5 separate regions of the Homo sapiens genome follow, and regions 1, 3, 4 and 5 are each linked to region 2. Evidence: promoter capture Hi-C in 16 types of primary human blood cells and fetal thymus (Javierre and others, 2016). All regions are on one chromosome and are shown on one strand. The core of a region is centred on a gene start or on the middle of the fragment in contact, and the rest is flanking DNA. Distances in the headings are between cores, read along the strand shown. Region 1 has its middle 16 kb from the start of OR2M4. Region 2 holds the start of SH3BP5L (SH3 binding domain protein 5 like). Region 3 overlaps OR2AJ1 (olfactory receptor family 2 subfamily AJ member 1). Region 4 has its middle 2.9 kb from the start of TRIM58. Region 5 has its middle 9.0 kb from the start of OR2T8.

What was found. The method cuts DNA at HindIII sites, captures the fragments that hold promoters and counts their contacts. A CHiCAGO score of 5 or more calls a contact.
Region 1: a contact is called between a fragment that was not itself captured here and the fragment with the promoter of SH3BP5L in region 2, in 1 of 17 cell types (monocytes). The highest score is 9.0, in monocytes.
Region 3: a contact is called between a fragment that was not itself captured here and the fragment with the promoter of SH3BP5L in region 2, in 1 of 17 cell types (megakaryocytes). The highest score is 7.1, in megakaryocytes.
Region 4: a contact is called between a fragment that was not itself captured here and the fragment with the promoter of SH3BP5L in region 2, in 1 of 17 cell types (megakaryocytes). The highest score is 5.6, in megakaryocytes.
Region 5: a contact is called between a fragment that was not itself captured here and the fragment with the promoter of SH3BP5L in region 2, in 2 of 17 cell types (megakaryocytes and erythroblasts). The highest score is 7.1, in megakaryocytes.

Annotation. Positions count from the first base shown.
Region 1 is chr1:248,246,364-248,249,063 of GRCh38, reverse strand. No RefSeq gene overlaps it. Among named protein-coding and RNA genes, the nearest start is that of OR2M4, 16 kb to the right of the region's middle. The HindIII fragment of the contact is 1,774 bases long and covers 377-2,150 here.
Region 2 is chr1:248,824,626-248,827,325 of GRCh38, reverse strand. It overlaps SH3BP5L (SH3 binding domain protein 5 like), which reads left to right and starts at 1,411. Exons shown (of 7, transcript NM_030645.3): 1 at 1,411-1,491; 2 at 1,960-2,573. The coding sequence starts at 2,391. MIR3124 (microRNA 3124) reads right to left here and starts at 949; the gene lies at 883-949. RefSeq lists enhancers at 720-819, 890-939, 515-1,065, 1,050-1,309, 1,066-1,617 and 1 more. The HindIII fragment of the contact is 10,505 bases long and covers 1-2,700 here.
Region 3 is chr1:247,927,204-247,929,903 of GRCh38, reverse strand. All of the region lies in intron 1 of OR2AJ1 (olfactory receptor family 2 subfamily AJ member 1), which reads right to left. Among named protein-coding and RNA genes, the nearest start is that of OR2AJ1, 3.7 kb to the right of the region's middle. The HindIII fragment of the contact is 3,035 bases long and covers 1-2,700 here.
Region 4 is chr1:247,852,931-247,855,630 of GRCh38, reverse strand. No RefSeq gene overlaps it. Among named protein-coding and RNA genes, the nearest start is that of TRIM58, 2.9 kb to the left of the region's middle. RefSeq lists a cis regulatory region at 1-531. The HindIII fragment of the contact is 1,801 bases long and covers 544-2,344 here.
Region 5 is chr1:247,909,927-247,912,626 of GRCh38, reverse strand. No RefSeq gene overlaps it. Among named protein-coding and RNA genes, the nearest start is that of OR2T8, 9.0 kb to the left of the region's middle. The HindIII fragment of the contact is 6,306 bases long and covers 1-2,700 here.

The DNA of each region.
Region 1 (2,700 bases), core at 14-2,513, 580 kb after region 2:
CTATTTGAGGTATCTATCAATGGACAAAGTTTAAAATTTTTAACTTGGTCAAATTTGTCAATGATTGTATTTATAGTTATTACTTTATATGACTTGCTTAAGAAATTGATGTCTGCTCGGGAACATTTGCCTATAATTTAAAACAAATATTTGTTGTGTTTTCAATATGTGTTTTTAATACAGTTGAGGTTGATTTTTGTACATTGTTCAGTAGGAACTAAATTTAATATATCTCCCTATAAGTAATATTTTCTCAATAATTTTATTAAAATTAAGTAGATTTACATTTGTTCAAAAAGTGGTATTATTTGAGGCCGATTAATTGTAATAAAAATTAGTCACAATAATGTATAATGTCTTACATCCAAATGAAGCTTACTTCTTGTTTTTGTAGCAGTGTTGGAAGTGTGGACATGTACTGCTTGTTGGTGCAGCTTCAGGGACCTAGGAAGACAGAGTCCCTGCCTGGGTTTCCTCGGGACATCTCCATTGAACAGCCACAGTGAAAAATATAATGTGCAAGAAAGCATCTCGGGGAGTGTTTCTCTTTTTCCTCCGTTTCTTCCTCCCTTCCTCCCTCTGTCACTCCCTTTTTTTCTTTTGCTGAAATACCCATATTTCTTTTAAAAATTTTTAATTTTTGAAAAATAGAGCACCACATCAAAGAAAAAAAAATTAAGGAACTACCAAGGATCAAAAAAATCTTGTTTCATATTTATCCACCCAACAAATCTAAATGCATTTAATGTTTGTGGAGTTTTGTTTTGTTTTGAGATGGAGTCCTGCTCTGTTTCCCAGTGCAGTGGTACGATCTCAGCTCACTGCAACCTCTGCCTCCCGGGTTCAAGCGATTCTCCTGCCTCAGCGTCCTGAGTAGCTGATTATAGGTGTGTGCCACCATGTCTGGCTAATTTTTGTATTTTTAGTAGAGATGGGTTTCACCTTGTTGGTCCGGCTGGTCTTGAACTCCTGACATTGTGATCTGCCTGCCTTGGCCTCCCAAAGTGTTGGGATTACAGGCGTGAATCACCGTGCCTGGCCATTTGTTTAGACATCTTATCACTTCTTCATTATACCTAATCTTGAATTCATAGTTTCTTCCTTTGTACTTAACCACAATACCTTATCACACAAATACAATTAACAGTATTTCCACAATGTCATCTAATAGGACATCTGTAAGCACATTTCTTAATAATCTCAATAATCTCATGTCTTACAATTGACTTATTTGGATGAAGACACCCACACACAAAAAAAACGCCGCATGTTGCCAGTTGAGGTTTCTAATTACACATGAATTTCCAGCCGGCACTCTGAGCAGCAACCACATTCCTTCAATCTCCATAGAAGGTCACTCTGTCTATGTGTACACAGACTAGAAGTGCCAGAGAATAAAAATCGCCAGCAGAGAAGCCCCCGAACAACCCTGGTGAAAATCAAGTTCTGTCTCCTCTCTCACAGGCAAGAATGATTCTCAAGGGTGTGCATTTTATATACTTTCTCAGAAGTGAGCCACAGGATTAGGTTGGATTTGCCCTCTGTAGTAGCTTACTCAATAAAACACGCTTTATTAACTTCCTTTCCTTCTCTGTATTAATTCTTTATAAATATAGACTTTTCCAGATAAAGAAAAGCTGAGGGATTTCATCAACACCAGACCTGTCTTACAAGAAATGCTAGAGAGAGTTCTTCAACATGAGAGAAAAAAAGTATTAATGAGCATCTGAAGGTACAAATCTCTCTGGTAATGGTAAGTACACAGGAAAAGACAGACTATTACAATACTGTAATTGTGGTGTGTAAACTACTCATATCTTAAGTAGAAAGATGAAAAGATGAACCAATCAAAAATGATATCTACAACAACTTTGTAAGACATAGACAGTACAATAAGATATAAACTGAAACAACAAAAAGTTACAAAGTGAAGGTATGAAGTTAAAGTGTAGAGGGTTTTTTTTTAAGTTCCTTTTTGCTTGCTTCTTGTTTGATTGTGAAATCAGGGTTACGTTGGTCATGAATTTTAAATAATGGGAGATAAGATATTACTCCCAAGGCTCACAATAATTTGAAATGTAAAAATACACAACAAGCACAGGCAACTGAAGCAAAAATGGACAAATAAGATCACATCAATTTAAAAAGCTTCTGCATAGCATAGGAAACAATAAAGTGAAGAGAAAACCCACAGAATGAAAGAAAAAATTTTCAAACTACTCATCTGACAAGGGATTAATAACCAGAATATATAAGGAGCTCAAACAACTCTATAGGAAAAAATGTATTAATCCAATTTAAAAATGGGTGAGAGTTGAATAGACATTTCTCAAAAGAAGACATACAAATGGCAAACAGGTATATGAAAAGGTGCTCAACATGTTGATCATAAGAAATGTGTAAATTAAAACTACAGTGAGATATCATCTCACCCCAGGCAAAATGACTTTCATATAAAAGAAAGGCAATACCAAATTATGCCAGAATGTGGAGAAAAGGGAGCCCTCCTACACTGCTAGTGGGAATGTGAATTAGTACAACCACCATAAAGGACAGTTTGGAGGTTCCTCAAAAAACTAAAAACAGAGTTACCACATGATTCAGCAATTCTACTGCTAGGCATACATCCAAAAGAAAGGTAATCAGTATATTGAAGAGATATCTGCACTCCATGTTTATTGGAGCAGTATTCGCAATAAC
Region 2 (2,700 bases), core at 162-2,661:
TCTCTACTAAAAATAGAAAAATTAGCCAGATGTGTTGGCATGCACCTGTAATCCCAGCTACTCGGGAGGCTGAGGCAGGAGAATCTCTTGTACTCGGGGGTGGGGGTGGGGCGGAGGTTGCAGTGAGCCAAGATCGCGCCATTGCACTCCAGCCTGGGCAACAAGAGTTAAACTCCGTCTCAAAATAAATAAATACATAAAAAAGCACTCTAACTTCTATAGCTGCTAGCTAGCAGACACATCTGGCCGAATCGCATCTATGCCAATCAAATCTGTAATTTTTCACTTCTCCAACACTATTGAGCCCTGATCACCTTCCTTCCTTCATTCTCCCTTTGAAATGCCCAGTCACTTCTGTACAAATCGGAACAGAGGTCAGTTCTTTTCCTTTCTGTAAGTAGTTACTGAAAAAAGTCTTTTTCACTGCTTCAATGTCTAGCTGGGTTGTCTTTGACAGGATCCAAAAAGGAGGGGAATTCAGCCCATTTGCCTTTTCCATCTGCAGGGCAAAGTTTTGAGTTGACTCTGAGGAAGTTACGCCTTTTGTAAAAACAAAACATCCAACCCTGAATGAAGCCCTTCCCCTTAGGCCTAGGCCCTCCCCTCACCAAGCGACACCTAGAGGTGACAAGCAGGCGCTCGCTCAGGGACCTAGGTAACGATACACAATGCCATGTAACAAACTCCTGCTCATCGAGGGCATCTGACCCTGGGTGCACGAGTGAATTAACTGAGTTAATGTTGACTAAGTTCCTGGTTAGTATTCACGGAGCAATTGGTGACCCCACCAAAACGTCGTTCAAGGTGCAAGGTCCAGAGGCCTCGAGGAGTGGGATTTACACATCGGAGCCGTCCGCTCAGACGCCGTTAGTGGAGGGTTCCGCCGACTTCACGGGAGTGAGGAAAGTCACTTTTGGAAATCGACTTTGCCTTCGCCCGCGAAGCCCGCCAGCGTCCGGACTCGAGTTGCCCCCGGAGCCACTGCCGGAAGTTTACCAGCTCACTTTCGGCGTCGCGCCCGCCTCCGTGGAGCAGGCCGGAAGTGGCTTTCCGGCAGCCGCCGCCGCAGCTCCGTAAAGCAAGATGGCACTACTCACTCTGAGGCTATTATCTCCGTTTTATATCTAGTATTCCTCTTCTCACCAGTTACTCTCGATTTCCGTCCCGCGCCCTAATTTTCTTCAGCACCACATTCTCATGTTTTTCTTTCATTCAGCCTTGGTGGAGTATGGTCTGGAGGCAACCTACGGCTAGCCTGAGCAACGTGGGGCACCATTTTGTACGGAAACTGAAGGCAGGGCGGGGGAGTGTGAGGCCTCCCGAGGAGGCCCGGCTTGAGAGAGAGCGTGGGAGGGAGAGCGTTGTTCACCGATGATGTATTTCCGCTTCTGGTCTGCCTGGTCGTTTTTGGTTGGATCGGCTTGTTGCGGGGAGGGAGGGGGGGAGATTGTTTGCAGCATAGAAGCTCCGCGGACGGGAAGGTAAACTGAGGTAAGGCTGTGCGGGGGGCTTTTGCGCATGGCTGGGTAGAATGGACGGGAGTAGGGTCCTTGGGATTGCGGAAGAGTGTGGAATTGGAGACGGGAGGCTTAGATGTCTCGGGTTGGACAGAGAAGGTGGGGTGGGGCTCGGGGTTACAAGGTGAATCGCAAAGCCGGGCTGGGGTGGAGTGGGACGAGCGGGAGACCACAGGAGATGGAGGAGAGCCTAGGGGTGCAGAGGAAAGTCTCGAAGGCGCTGGTTGAGGAGGGCCTGGGTCGAGAGGAGCTGGGACGGGGGAAGAGTAGAATCTAAAGTCCTTGAGGGCTAAGGAGAGAAGTTGAGGTAGGGACTGGTCGGAATACATGGGTGGGGGCGTGGTGAGAGTGTAGTTTTTGGGAGGCTGTAGAGTTGGAAGGGGCTGGTGGCTGCGGTTTTGATGCTGACATGACCATATACTTGGCCTTTGTTTCTCTGCAGCTCCCCAGAGACGCTCATCCTACAGCCTCAGCTCGGGCCCAGCCTTCTCTCTCCAGCTGCCACCACAGCCTGGAGGCGCCTGCCTCCACCCTCCCGAATGGTGCTCCTCCTAGCAGGCCTCGGTCCAGGATCCAAGCCCCCTTTGCCCCCTGCCTTGGAGCTGTTGCTCCGGGTTTGTCACAGTGGACTCCCTGTGGCGGGAAGGGAAGAACTTTTGCACAGACAAGGCTTCAGCTCTAGGAACCCCACTGACAACTTGAATCTCAACCTCTAACCTAGTGTGAGGTTCTTCCTGTGCCCACCTTTTCTGCCTTTTGAGAAGAGAAACTCTTCTCCTGGCCATCTAGAGCCCAGGAAGCCCCAAGCTGGGGCCCTGGTCCCAGCATGTCAGTCCTCTCTTGTGCATAGGGCTCTGCCCTCCCCCTGTCAGCATGGCTGAGCTCAGACAGGTTCCAGGAGGGCGGGAGACCCCACAGGGGGAGCTGCGGCCTGAAGTTGTAGAGGATGAAGTCCCTAGGAGCCCAGTCGCAGAAGAGCCTGGAGGAGGTGGAAGCAGCAGCAGTGAGGCCAAATTGTCCCCAAGAGAGGAGGAAGAACTGGATCCTAGAATACAGGTGAGAGCACTGAGAGCAGGGAGAGAAGGAGAGCCCAGATTCCAGCCTCCCTGAAGAGTGTTGGATGAATGAGGGCTTAGACTTACTCTGTCCCCAGTCTGCTGGGGCAGGAAAGGAGAACAAGTTT
Region 3 (2,700 bases), core at 59-2,558, 900 kb after region 2:
GCTATTGACTCAAACATTTTATTAAGAAAATAACAATATCATCAATACCCTACTGCTTTGAAGAGATAAACAGGAAAATTTAATGGAAATGCAATATCCCAAAAATATTTCATTTTTTTGTCTTACATGAAACACCAGATATGAAATTATATCTGAAATATCCATTAAATTATGTCTGAAATGAATTTCTATGAAATGAAGATCATGACAGTACCTGCCTGATAAAGTTGTTTTGAATATTAGATGAGACTCATTAAATACCCCCACTGCAAACACACACACACACACACACACACACACACACCGAGTGAAGGGGGGGAATAGAGCCTGGCACACAGTCAATACTCAGGATGATTATTATTGCTACTACTATTATTACTATATTAGTATTCCTATAATTACTATATTCTTACTCTTTTTTGTTTCTTAAATACACATGTAAGGGGTTATATACCAGGGGAGGGAGAAAATGAGATAGCTAGGGAGAGGAAAAGAGGGGCAGGAAGGAAAGGAATGAAAGAAGAGAGATTCAGGATATGATAGAATGTAGCTATGTAAAGCAAAGTACAATATAATGCGTGAATCAGAAGTATATTTTGTACTCACTGTCCAGAAAATTGACTCATTAAGCTAGGGAGAAAGAAACTCACCACACTGAATGAGAATGTTTAGGTCGGCTTCCTCACCCACATGCGCACATGAAAATGAGTGTGAAAGAGCAAATGAAGACTTTGAAATCAAATAATCTGAGCTGCTTACAATCTCATTTTATGCCAGCCATTTGATGTTTTAATTCACCATTTTTTTTGGCCCTTCTAACTTTTCAATTCCATACAATCATTACGGAGTGAGTGACCACATGTCTTCTCCTTGTTACTGCCACCTGATTTAAGGGATTCCTATAATTACTGTCTCCCAAGGAGCTGGGACTACAGGCGCCCACGACCACGCCCGGATAATTTTTTTTATTTTTAGTAGAGACGGGATTTCACCGTGTTAGCCAGGATGGTCTCGATCTCCTGACCTCGTGATCCGCCCGCCTCGGCCTCCCAAAGTGCTGGGATTACAGGCGTGAGGCACCGCGCCCGGCCCATCCTGTTTCTTTAGCATATGGATATGATGATGTATGTTCCTGAAATGTTCCTGTAACCATTTCATAGGGACAAAACTCAAGGGATTAAGGAGCCGAAGACTGTCTGCTACCAGGCAATTTCCTGTTGATCACCAATCACAAAAGCTGCCCTGATTGGCCAAAATCAACACTTGCTTCTTATGAAGAAATTAAAAATGATGCTTGTTTTAAGGGAAATGCTTCAACATCGGTCTCAGAAAAGATTTTATCTCTAAGACTTCAAGGGCACAGGCAACAAGATAGAAACACACAAATGGGGCTACATTAAACTAAACACCTTCTGCACAGAAAAGAAAACATTCATCTCAATGAAAAAACACCCTGCAAAATTGAAGAAAATATTTGCAAATTATTCTTCTGACAAAAGATTAATATATAGTATATGCGAGGAACTCAATAGCAAATAAAACCCCATAATCCAATTGAAAATAGGTAAATGATCTAAATACCCATTTCTCAGAAGAAGACATAAAAATAGCCAAATATTTGAAAAAATGTTCAACATCACTAATCATAAGGGAAATATAAATCAAAACCAAAATGACATATAATTTCACTGCAATTAGAGTGGTCATTATCAAAAAAGACAAAAAATAACAAATGCTGGTGAGGATGTAGAGAAAGAGACATCTTATACAGTGTTGATGGGAATGTAAATTAGTATAGCTATTATAAAGAACACTATGAAACTAAAAATATAGATCTATCATATGATCCAGCAATTCAACTACTGGGCATATATCCAAAGGAAAGGAAATTAGCCTATTGAAGGGACATCTGTACCTCAATGTTTAGTGCCACACTGTTCACAATATCCAAGATATGGAATCAACTACATGTTCATCAACCAATGAATAGTTAAAGAAAATGTGGTATGTATACACAATGGAATACTATTCAGTCATAAAAAGAATAAAATCTTGTAGTTGGTGGCAACATGGATGAGCCTGGATGACATTATGTTGAGTTCAATAAACCAGGGCACAGAAGGATGTATACTACATGTTCTCATTCATATACAGAAGGTTAAAAAACCTGATCTCATAGAGGTAGAGAGTAGAATGGTATTTACTCGAGGCTGGGAAACACGAGGGCCTAAGAGAAGAGAGAGAAGTTGCTCAATGAGTACAAATTTATAACTATGTTGGAAGAATAAGTTCTAGTGTTCTATAGCACTCTAGGATGATTATCGTTAATGATAATTTTTTCTATCTTTTCAAATAGCTAGAAGAAAGGATTTTCAATGTTCCCAACACACACACACACACACACACCCCCTAAATGTTTAAGGTGATTAATATGCTAATAACCCTGATTTGATCATTAAACTTTGTATGTATCCAAATATCACTCTGTACCCCATAAATTTGTACAAGAATTGTGCATCAATTAACTTTTTAAATCCTTGTTTAATGTTGAAGTCCCTACTGACCAGGTCTCTGTTACTGATGATAGAACTGAATTCTCTCTTATTATGCACTTAATGCTGTCAGAAAAAAGAAAACGATTTTCTTATTATAGTGCAGGTGATTGAAAAAAACTGAGATGATTTCTAGAAATTAGGGAAA
Region 4 (2,700 bases), core at 195-2,694, 970 kb after region 2:
ATAACAGAGGACTCTGAATGAGGCTGCAGGGTCGGGGGCAGACACCTGAGGTCTCTGAGCAAACCTCTGATAGGTGAACACAAGCTGGCCAGCGGGAAGGGGGGCTCCGCAAGGCCGTGCCCCCAGAAGCCATGAAAGGTACAAGGTAAACTTCAGCAGGTGGGAGCAAGACATACCCAGATGACAGTGAGAAGCCAGGCAGGCTGGCAAGCTGGGCCAGAATATGGTGGCAGCAGATAAGGCTGCAGCAAGAGGCGGGGCCAGATGACTCAGGTCCTTGGGGATCCTCTGGGGTTTGTGGGTCTTCATTATAAGGACAAACTCTTGGGCTGGATCTCTGGCGACAGGCAGAGCAGAGGATCTTGAGGCCTAAAGGTTAAGTGCGCAATTAAAGCGAATAGATTCTTGGAGAACACACATGGATCTGTATTAGCAAAACACGAAAGATGTGGCATTAGAGAAAAAAGCTAAAGAGCAGAAGGCTTAGCAAAGAAAAACAGACTCTGGCTCCGGACTAAGGGCTGTGGCACTTGCTGAGAAGCTTGAGGCAAGCTGTGCCGCGTTTCTGCCCTGCATTTCTTCTGACGTGCAGTGAAGAGGTGTTAGTGTCATTCATATAAGGCCTTTCAGAGTATTAAACGAGCTAATAGATAGTAGACACTTAATATAGGTCCTGGCATGTTGGAAATACACACACACACACACACACACACACACACACACGTATATATATTGAGACAGGGTCTTGCTCTGCTGCCCAGGCTATAGTGTAGTGCCACAACCTGACTCACTGTAGCCTCTACCTTTCAGGCTCAAGTGATCTTCTCACCTCAGCCTCCCAAGTACCTGCGACTACAGGTGCCCGCCACCACGCCCAGCTAATTTTTGTATTTTTTGTAGAGACAGAGTTTCGCCCTGTTGCCCAGGCTGGTCTCAAACTCCTGGGTTCAAACAATCTCCCCACCTTGGCCTCCCAAAGTGCTGGGATTACAAGTGTGAGCCACCTCGCCCGGCCATGTAGCAAATATATTTAATTGAAGAAAAGGAAATGAAATAGTGAAGTGAATGGAAGGATGGTGAGTCAAAAGGTAAGCTACATTAGGAAGAGAGATTTTTTTCTATTTTGTTCACTGCTCTATCTATCCCCAGGACCTTGAAGAGTAACTGGCACAAATGGACACTCCACACATACTAACTGATTAAACAAGTTAATAAGTAAATGAACAGAATTAGGACAGTTTATCATAGGAGCTAATGAAAGAGGGAAGTTCAAAGATGATTATATTATGTCAAATGTCAAATCCATGTTTTTCTGCATTTTACATATATGATCTTGCCCTGGCTCTCCATAACTCTGGCAGATGCTGGAGCATTTTTCTATTTTGCAGGCATAACGAGACACAGTAAAACAATCCATTTACTCAAATATATGGGCCAGTTGATAACTAGGCTCACTTAAATTCAGATTTCCTAGTGCCTGTGATCCTAAGGAAAGGCCCCTGGCTTCTGACGTTGGGGGTCACTGTGGTTTTCAGTAGGGTGTGACGGAGTGGGCGAGCTCACTTCTTCCCCTGCTGGTCCTAGAGTTGCTGAGCTTAAACTGTTTTGTCTCTGACACTGGTTGACTAGGAATGACATCGGTACCATTGTTCTTAGAAACACACATTTCCCTTACAGCACGTCCATGCAGGTAAGTTGTGGACTGGATTATATCCAGATGTCATTGTATTTACAAATGCTATGTGGAGTGCCTCGCCAGGCAGTTTCTGGTTTAATGGGAATACTCTAACTTAAATTTGTATTTTCTCATGAGCTTTCTTTTGGCGTAAATAAAGCACCTCTTGGTTTATGCCAATACGACCAAATTCTAATGCACCCCACTCCTTAATTTATAGGCTAACTCCACCCTGTGACTCATTTACAGGTTGCAGAGTTGCAAATCTTTTAGCTAATACCACCTGCAACCATCCTCCTTCTCTAATATTCCTCTTCAGTTGTGTCCTGCCTTCTGTGACATCTTTAAAATATGGGATCTGCCGTCATCTGACCATTATTCCTCCCTGCTCTTTTTTGTAATTTCTTTGGTATCATGGCTTTGGGCTCCTGAAACCATTTCTTCAGGACAGCAATATTTTCTTCCCTACTTTGAACCCTTTTCACAGAGTTTCTCAGCTCTCCATGGCCAAACCCTTTGCCTCAGCTTTGGGGATTCACAATCTCCTAGCTCCATAGCCCCCAAATCAGCCCAATTTGTTACCAAAAACCAGGAGTTCGGTCTAGGTCCTGCTGCTCTCCACACAGAAAGCCAATCACTGAGACAACGATTATTGCCAAAGAAGAAGCTTTTAATCAGGTGCTGCAGCAGAGGAGATAGGAGCTCAGTTTCAAATCCATCTCCCTGACTGACTAAAATTAGAGGCTTATATAGAGGCAGGGAAGAAATAGCACACTGTGTGGAAAAAGAGGAACTAGGGAGGGGTAAGGAAGCAATCATGTTGAATAAGCGGACTGGACTGGCATCTCATTAACTGGTTGAGATGACCTGGGGTGATCCGGTAAGTTTCAGTTCTTTGTTACTTTACTTTTCAAGAGGGCTGGTGGTCCTTTCCTGAGGAAGGAACTCAGATAAAACAAAAGTAAGTTTCAAGCTCTAAGACCAGAAGGGTCAAATTCTCTCTCTCTCTCTCTCTCTCTCTCTCT
Region 5 (2,700 bases), core at 78-2,577, 910 kb after region 2:
ATTTTGGAAGAAATGTAGAAGAAAAGAAAAACAAAGAAAGGAAAGAAACCCTTGGAATCTTTCTACTGGGCTACCATAAATAAGGACAATCATTCAAATTTTGGCTCAAGAAATAGAAATAAATTTTCATTGAGTAGTTTCTTCTCTACCATGTAGCTAATTGTCACGCATTAAGATCTTCTCAATTTAGAGACTCAGTCTGAAGCCATATGAGGCGATTTATGTAAGCAACTTACATTGTCAGTTCCACATTCTTCCTTCCTCATTGAGTTTATTTATGAGACTGAATTAATTAAATCACAAATTAAAATAAGAAACTTCAAGAATAGCACTTACATGATTTCTTCTAATTTAAAATGTATTCTTTGGCCGGGTGCAGTGGCTCACGCCTGTAATCCCAGCACTTTGGGAGGCCGAGGCGGGCAGATCACGAAGTCAGGAGATACAGACCATCCTGGCTAACAGGGTGAAACCCCGTCTCTACTAAAAAAAAATACAAAAAATTAGCTGGGCGCGGTGGTGGGCACCTGCAGTCCCAGCTAATTGGGAGGTTGAGGCAGGAGAATGGCGTGAACCCGGGAGGCGGAGCTTGCAGTGAGCCCAGATCGCACCACTGCACTCCAGCCTGGGCCACAGAGTGAGACTCTGTCAAAAAAAAAAGAAGAAAGAAAAAGAAATAATATCACAGGGTGTTGTAATATCATCCCCTTTCCATCTGGATATTAGAAACAATATCACAGAGGGGTTGTACACCTTTTGCGATATTACAGTAATATCATCCTCTACCCTCCTGGATATTAGGAACATCATCACAGGGGAGACGTACAGCCCCTGCAATATTGGGAATAATATTATCCTCCCTTCCCCTGGATATTGCGAACATTATCAACGTGAGGGTGTACACACCCTGCGATATTAAGAGTGATATCATTTCCTCACGCCCTGGATATCAGGAACAATACAACAGGGGGGTACACCCCCTTCGATAGTGGGAATTGTATCATCCTTTTCCCCCGTGGATATTACAGAGGCGGTGTACACCCTCTGCGACATTGGGACTAATATCATCCCGTCCCCCCCGGTTATAAGGAACAATATAAGAGGGGGAGTGTACAGCTCCTGCGATATTGGCAATAATATCATCCTCTCCCCCCGTGGATATTAGGAATACTGTCATAGGAGCGGTGTACACCCCCTGCAATATTGGAAGTATTATTGTTTTTTCGCCTGGATATTAGAAACAATATCCCAATAAATATTGTTTGTAATATCCAGGGGGGAGAGAAGGGTGATATTACTCCCCATATCGCGGGGTGTGTATACCCTTCTGCAATATTGGGGTAATATCATCCTCTCGCCCCCTGGATATTAAAAACAATATCACAGGAGGAATGTACACAGCCTGTGATACTAGGAATAATATCCTCTCATTCTTTGGATATTAGGTACAATATCACAGGGGGTGTACATGCTCCGCGAGACTGGAAGTAGTATCATCCTCTCTTTCCCTGAATATTACAAACAATATCACAGCAGGGCATACACCTTCTGCGATACTGAGAGTAATACCAACCTCTCCCCTGCTGGATATTACGAACGATACAAGAGGGTGGTGTACACATGGGGTGTTCAGGATATTGGGAGTAATATCATCCTCTTTCTCCATGAATATTACGAACAATGTCAGAGGGGGGTGTACAGCCCCTGATATTAAGAGTAATGTCATCTTCTCCTACCCTGGATATTAAGAACAACATTAAATGAAGGTGTACACTCCCTGGGATATTGGGAATAATATCATCCTCTTTCCTTCTGTATATTACGGACAATATCACAGGGGGGTGTATATCCCCTGCAATATTGCAAATAATATTATACTCTCCCACCCTTAATATTACCAACACTATCACAGGAGGGTGTACACCCCCTGTGATATCAGGACTAATGTCATCGTCTCCCCACCTTGGATATTACAAACAATATCACAGGGGGGTGTACACCCCTTGCGATATTAAGAGTAATATCATCATCTCCCCCTCTGGATATCATCGTCTTCCGCCCCCCGCCCCCCCGCCGGATGTTAGGAAAATATCAGAGGGTGGTTGTACAGCCCCCTGCAATATTGAGAGTAATATAATCCTCTTTCCCTGGATATTAGAAACAATATCACAAGGGGGTATGTACACTCCCCACAATATTGGAGGTAATATCATCCTCTTTCCTCATCACCTACTGTGATATGTTTCATAATATCCAGTGAGGGAGAGAAAGGTGATATTTCTCCTTATATCGTGGGGGCGTACACACCCCTGTGATATAGATTGTAATATCTAGAGAGGGAAGAAGAATTATATTACTCCCCATATTGCGGGGGTGTCCACCTCCCTGTGATATGGTTCATAATATCCAGTGGGAGAGACATGATATTACTCCCCATATCATTAGGGGGTACACCTCCTTGTGATGTGATTCATAATATCCAGGGGAGGAGAGAAAGGTGATTATCTCAATAGATGCAGAAAAGGCCTTTGACGAAATTCAACAATCCTTCATGCTAAAAACTCTCAATAAATTAGGTATTGATGGGACGTATCTCAAAATAATAAGAGCTATCTATGACAAACCCACAGCCAATATCATACTGAATGGGCAAAAACTGGAAGCATTCCCTTTGAAAACTGGCACAAGACAGGGATGCCC